Linked DNA regions of Homo sapiens: region 1 is linked to region 2. The links are contacts of gene promoters, found by promoter capture Hi-C in blood cells and fetal thymus (Javierre and others, 2016). All regions are on one chromosome and are shown on one strand. The core of a region is centred on a gene start or on the middle of the fragment in contact, and the rest is flanking DNA. Distances in the headings are between cores, read along the strand shown. Region 1 has its middle 30 kb from the start of EIF5AL1. Region 2 holds the start of TMEM254 (transmembrane protein 254).

Evidence for each region. The method cuts DNA at HindIII sites, captures the fragments that hold promoters and counts their contacts. A CHiCAGO score of 5 or more calls a contact.
Region 1: a fragment that was not itself captured here is called in contact with the fragment with the promoter of TMEM254 in region 2 in 3 of 17 cell types (M0 macrophages, M2 macrophages and erythroblasts); the score reaches 7.4 in M0 macrophages.

What each region holds. Positions count from the first base shown.
Region 1 is chr10:79,480,690-79,483,892 of GRCh38, forward strand. No RefSeq gene overlaps it. Among named protein-coding and RNA genes, the nearest start is that of EIF5AL1, 30 kb to the right of the region's middle. The HindIII fragment of the contact is 2,563 bases long and covers 492-3,054 here.
Region 2 is chr10:80,076,779-80,080,079 of GRCh38, forward strand. It overlaps TMEM254 (transmembrane protein 254), which reads left to right and starts at 1,887. Exons shown (of 4, transcript NM_025125.4): 1 at 1,887-2,008. The coding sequence starts at 1,922. TMEM254-AS1 (TMEM254 antisense RNA 1) reads right to left here and starts at 2,415. Exons shown (of 4, transcript NR_027432.1): 1 at 1,949-2,415. The HindIII fragment of the contact is 2,319 bases long and covers 1,059-3,301 here.

The DNA of each region.
Region 1 (3,203 bases), core at 523-3,022, 600 kb before region 2:
GCATAACTGAAACAAAAAGAAATGTAAAAATGAATATTCAGCAAACAAAAATAGACTTGGAAATTAAACACACAATAAGAATAAAAACTCACTAGATTAAGAGGATAAAAAGACATACCAAAGGCTGGGAGAAAATATTTGCAAACATATATCCTATAAAGAACTTATATTCAAAATATTCAAAAAACTCTTACAACTCAATAATAAGAAAACAAATAACCCAATTTAAAAATTGGTAAAATACCTGAAGAGTTACCTCTTCAAAGAAGATACACGGATGGTAAATAAGCAAGTGAAAAGATAATCAGCATCATATGTCATTAGGGAATTTCAAATCAAAATAGCAATGAGATATCACTTCATACCTATTAGAATGGCTAAAATCCAAACACCACAACCTGAAATGCTGGTGAGAACTGAGGCAACAGGAACTCTCATTCATTGCTGGTGGGAATGGAAAATGGCATAGCCATTTTGGAGAACAATCTGGAAGCTTCTTACAAAGCTAACCATATGAGCTTACCATATGATCTAGCTCCTTGGTATTTACCCAAATGAGTTGAAAACTGATGTCCACACAAAAACCTTTATACGAATGTTTACAGCAACTTTATTCATAATTGCCAAAAACTGGAAGTAACTGAGTTATCCTCCAATAGGTGAATTGATAAACAAACTGTGGTATATCCATATAATGGAATATTATTCAGTGATAAAAAGAAATGATTATCAAGCTATGGAAAAAACATGAAGGAACCGTAAATGTATATTACTAAGTGAAAGAGGCCAATGTGAACAGGCTACATACAATATAATTCCAAAATATGGCATTCTGGAAAAGACAAAACTATAGAGAAGCTAATAATTTCAACTGCCTAAAGTTTGGGGGTCAGAGGAAGGAAGGGATAAGTAGGAAGAACACATTTTTTCAGGGGATTGAAAATATAATATTCTGCATGAAGTATGTAATGGTTGATACATGACATATATTTGTCACAACCCATTGAATGCACAATACAAAGACTGAGCCCTTATGTAAACTAGAGGCTCTAGTTAATAATAATATAGCAATACTAGCTTATCAGGTGTGACAAACGTACCACACTAATGCATGATGTTAATTGGGGAAGTTGTGTGTGGAGGAAGAGGTGCTGTGGGGGAGCTCTAGATTTTCTGTTCAATTTGTCTGGAAACTTGAAACTGCTCTGGAAAGAAGATCTGCTGGCCAGGAGTGGTGGCTCATGCCTGTAATCCCAGCACTTTGGGAGGCTGAGGCGGGCAGATCAGGAGGTAAAGAGATCAAGACCATCCTGGCCAACGTGGTGAAACCCCATCTCTACTAAAAATACACAAATTAGCTGGGCTTGGTGGCTCGCGCCTGTAGTCCCAGCTACTTGGGAGGCTGAGGCAGGAGAATGCTTCAACCCGGGATGCGGAGGTTGCAGTGAGCCAGGATTGTGCCACTGCATTCCAGCCTGGGTGACAGAGCAGGACTCTGTCTTAAAAAAAAAAAATCTGTTAAGTTTTCAAACAAGAATGTGTAAATTTAAGAAAGAAAAAGATTCATTAGAAAGGAAAATGAAATTCAGAAACTCTGTCAGAAAGTAGAGAAAAAAATATAGACATTGAAATCAAGAAAGAAAAGATGAGAAAATCAAAGGACAAGTTCAAGGTCCAACATCTGACCAATAGAAGCACCAGAAACAGAGCAGAGAGAATGCTGGGGAAGACAGTCATCAAAAAATGACTCAGGAAATGTTCCTAGAACTGAAAGACATCCATTCTCAGATCAAAAAGACTCAGCAGGAGTCCTGCACAATTGATGAAAATAGATCCCCAACAAGAGACAAGATGATGAAATGTTGGAACATTTGGAGGAAGAAGAAGATGCTTAAAGATGACAGAGATACAAACAGGTTACATAGAAAGAATCAGTCATTGCGAGGGCATTAGACTTTGCCAGGCACACAGTAGCTAGGAGGCAGTGCAGGAATGCCTTCAAAATTTTGAGGGCAGATTATTTTCAAACTCAAATTCTATGTCCAGCAAAATTATCAATCAAGTGTGAGGGTAGAGTAAGAATATTTTTAGGTATTTGCCTCAACAGCCCCCACTTGCAGGAGCTACTAGAAGAAGCGCCCCACCCAAAATGAGGGTGTAAACGAAGAAAGAGAAAGACTTGGCATCCAGAAAACAGATGTAACACAAGAGAGACAAAGAACAAAGGCGAAAGAAGATCCCTGTGGCCAACTGTGCAGTGAGCCCGGAGACAGGCAGCCAAAGAGGAGCTGGTCAGAGGGGCCTAGAAGGAATTTTTCTAAAAAGACAGAAATGCTAGATTCTCAATTAGGGCTGAACACACTGAGAGGAGATTTACACAGCTGAATTAGTGTTTTGGCAGATAAAATGAAGTCTACAAAACATTAAAAAAAATAGAACAAAATGATAATGATTAATTCCAGAGGAGAAAATACTGTTTGGAAGAGAAAAAGTAACTGTGATATAATTTATGTCTCAGCTGTCGATAGTGTTTACACTATAATAAATGTGAATCCTGAAAATGGCTCTAACCAAAATTACAACAAAATCAGAATGGGAAGATGGGGGGCAGCACAGGAAGTGTGTGTGTGTGTGTGTGTGTGTGTGTGTGTGTGAGAGAGAGAGAGAGGGGTGGCAAAGAGGATAGGAGAGGTGTATGTCAAAGAGACCAGACTCTTATTTTTCACAGTAGAAAGTCCATTGGTAAGTCTTGAAATGGAAAATACAAAAAGTATCAACACAAACAAGTTATTTCGAAATATGAAAGTAAATACCAGAATAATTACTGTAAAAAGAGTTGAGAGTGATTGCCTCTGGGGAAAAAGAAACAGTGGGAACAGGGTAGGAAACTGGTTCTTGTCATAGCAAAAGAATAATTTGTCTTTTAAACTACGTCCATAGATAATTATGACAAAAGTAAAAACAAAAATAGAGAAAAAGAATAAGAGAAGAAAGAAGGCTCACACGTAGACTGTGCACCCACTCTCAGGTAGCACTATTACCAACACCTCCTCAAGCTTTGGCTCATTTAATCCCCACGTGGCACAGTTCCTGTTATCCAGGTGAGAAAAGAGGCCTAGAGACTCTGAAAACCTGCATGGGGCACACATCTAGCAAGAGATTTGCTCAATTCATCCGTCTCCCGGCTCCCCCAACTTTGGGCA
Region 2 (3,301 bases), core at 637-3,136:
GGGTGGTGTGATCAAGGATGATAAGGACTAAGAAAACACCAATTGTTACAATTGTTACTGTTAATCTTGATATTCAAGAGCACTGTGGTCTACCTGGGAAATGGATTTCCTCACATATTCTGAAATTCATTCTTTAAGACTTTATATCCCAAGATACTCACGTAAAAAATGAGGAAAGAGAACCTTGGTTGGTTCCAGAGTGCCCTCTCTGGAACTGGAACACTCAGCTGCCAATTGTTTTCCAGTATTCCTCACCCACTTGGGCATGACAGGACCCTGTGCTGTTTCTTCTTCTTTGAAATAAGGACAATAGTTTACTGCCTAGGATTGTTTTAAGAATTAAATTAGTTAATTATTGTATAGTACTTAGAACAATGCCTTGAACATAGTAGGTGTTCAATAAATACCAGCTACAGTATAGTAACTTTTTTTTTTTTTTTTTGACGGAGTCTCACTCTATAGCCCAAGCTGAAGTGCAGTGATTGGATCTCGGCTCACTGCAACCTCCGCCTCCGGTGCTCAAGCAATTCTCGTGCCTCAGCCTCCCAAGTAGTTGGGACTATAGACACGCGCCACCACCCCCAGCTAATTTTTTGTATTTTAGTAGAGACAGGGTTTCACCATGTTCTCCAGGGTGGTCTCGAACTCCTGAGCGATCCACCCACCTCGGCCTCCAAAAGTGCCAGGATTATAGGCTTGAGCCACTGCGCTTGGCCAGTAACCCATTTTTAAGGCCCAGGTGAAATAGTTTTTCTATTTCTATGATTTTCTATTTCTATGATTAAATAGTGTTTAATCAGACACTTCAGCTGCATATACCTCCCACAGCTCATTGATGATACAACAGTTCGCACAGGGCCTGGCACACATGCTAAAGGCTCAGCAGTATTGATAATCACCCACACTTACAAAGCACTATGGGCCAGACACTGCTGTGCTTTCTTTACAGATATCAACTCATTTAACCCACCCTAAAAACCCTGAGGTTCCCAAAACTGGCATATCCTCATGTTACAGATACAGAAACTAAGACACAGCCGGGCTAAGTAATTAATCTAAGCTTACACAAATAGCCGAGACAGAGCCAGGACTTAAATCCAGGCAGCCTGTTTCACAGTCCCTGCTCATAACCATGGTGCTGTATAGTTCCAAACATCTTAACTAATGAGGACAGCATTATTTCTCAAGGTGCACAGCACAGAGAACTTCAAAAATTAGACTCTTAGTAAAACACCATCTTTTTTTTTTTTTTTTGAGACAGGGTCTTGCTGTGTTGCCCAGGCTGGAGTGCAGTGGCGTGATCTGGGCCCACTGCAACCTGCACCTCTCAGGTTCAAGAGAGTCTTGTCTCAGCCTCTGGAGTTGCTGGGACTACAGGCAGGCACCACCGCGCCCAGCAAATTTTTTGTATTTTTAGTACAGACGGGGTTTCACCATGTTGACCACGCTGGTCTCAAACTCCTGACCTCAAGTGATCTGCCCGACTCGGCCTCCCAAATTGCTGGAATTTATTCCAACACCTCATTCATTCATTCATTCATTCGAGACAGAGTCTAGCTATGTTACCCGGGCTGGTCTCAAACTCCTGGGCTCAAGGGATCTTTCTACCTCAGCCTCCCAACGTGCTGAGATTACAGGGACACGCCACCGCGCCAGCCCGAACATCTTTATCTTAAACCCAGAAAAGTGACAGGAGTGTCTCCCCTACAAGATGATGACCAGCCCTCCAGACCTGAGCCCAGGTGTGATTCCAAGGCCCCTGTACTGGGGCCAGACAGGGAGACTCGCTCTCAGGGACTTCCCAACCAGCACCATCTTCTCCCTGCGGGGATGGCGAGGGAGCGCGGGCCGGCCCCGGCCCTGCCTCCGCGCTCGCGCTCGACGGTGTCCTGAAGCGCGCTCCCGGGGAGGTGTTGCAGCCATGGCTACGGCAGCCGGCGCGACCTACTTTCAGCGAGGCAGTCTGTTCTGGTTCACAGTCATCACCCTCAGCTTTGGCTACTACACAGTAAGGACAGCCGCTGGAGCGCTACGGTCTGACGAACGAGCGAGCGCTCGGTTCACCCCAGGACCTGGGCTCACAGGCCGCGGGCCGGGGGAAGTCGTGCAAGCACAATCCCGACTCCCGCGCGCTAGGAGCGGAGGGGAGGGGACCAGACTCCGCAATGAGAGCAAGCATACTGGTCCGCCAGGGTCTTGGGCGGGCGCCCAGGGCCCTGAGAAACCGGCTAGCCAGGCTTTTCTTATATGGGGGCGGGGACGGCTGGGGAGCTCCCAGCCAACTCTGTGTCTGGGTTTTTCAAGAGGATGGTGAAGTCGGAGGCCAGCAATGCGGCTACCGCCTATTTCCGTCCAGCAAGACCCTTGCCCTCTCTGGTCACAGTCCTGGGGCTGGGCTACTTCGCGGTGAGGCGTGGGGTGGGGCGGGGCGGGCCTCTGTTTTGGCCCGCCGGGCCCTCGTAGGGCGAGGGGAGCTCTGGGAACGGGGCCTGTGCGCACGCGCATCTGACGGTTGTCTCGGTTACTCATGTAAGCGGAAATTCGGTGGGCTCTTAGGATAGTTTCTGCTTTCTAGTGTTCCTGTCTTTGGGTCCTCACCTCTGCATGGTTACTAACGGGTTATCCGAGCCTAAGCCTCTCACGAAGCGGAAAGTCAAGTTAACAGACTGCCATAGGCCTGCCAAGTCAGAATAGGGCTTCCGAAGCAGAATGTTTGAGCCAATAGGAATTGTTTGGAAAACGGGGATAAATCTAAAGGATGGGTAGGATTTAAGTGGTAAGGGAGGATAAAGAGGCTATAACTGTTCTGACATAGGTGTGGAAGCAAGAAGAAAGCTGTACCTAGAAAAAGAGCGACGTTTGTTTGGCTGAGAAATAATCTGTTTAAAGGATAACGAGAAAGATGCGTGGAAAAGTAGGTTGGGGGCTAAGGTGGTAGTTTTGTGTTTTTTTGAGACGGAGTCTCGCTCTGTCACCCAGGCTGGAGTGCAGTGGGGCGATCTCGGCTCACTGCAACCTCTGCTTCCCAGGTTCAAGCGATTCTCATGTCTTTACCTGTAGCTGGGATTACACTATGCCCAGCTATTTTTTTGTGTTTTTAGTAGACATGGGTATTGGTGAGGCTGGCCTCGAACTCCTAACGTCAAGTGATAAGGTGGTAAAATTTTGAAGGAAGGCGAAGCTATTTGGGTATACCAATAGATCCTGGAGATTGGAGATTTGTCTTGTCCACAGTGTTGTTTGTTGGTGTCAAATCTGACAACCTATGTCCTGATTTCCCCATATGTACAATGGAGGTGTT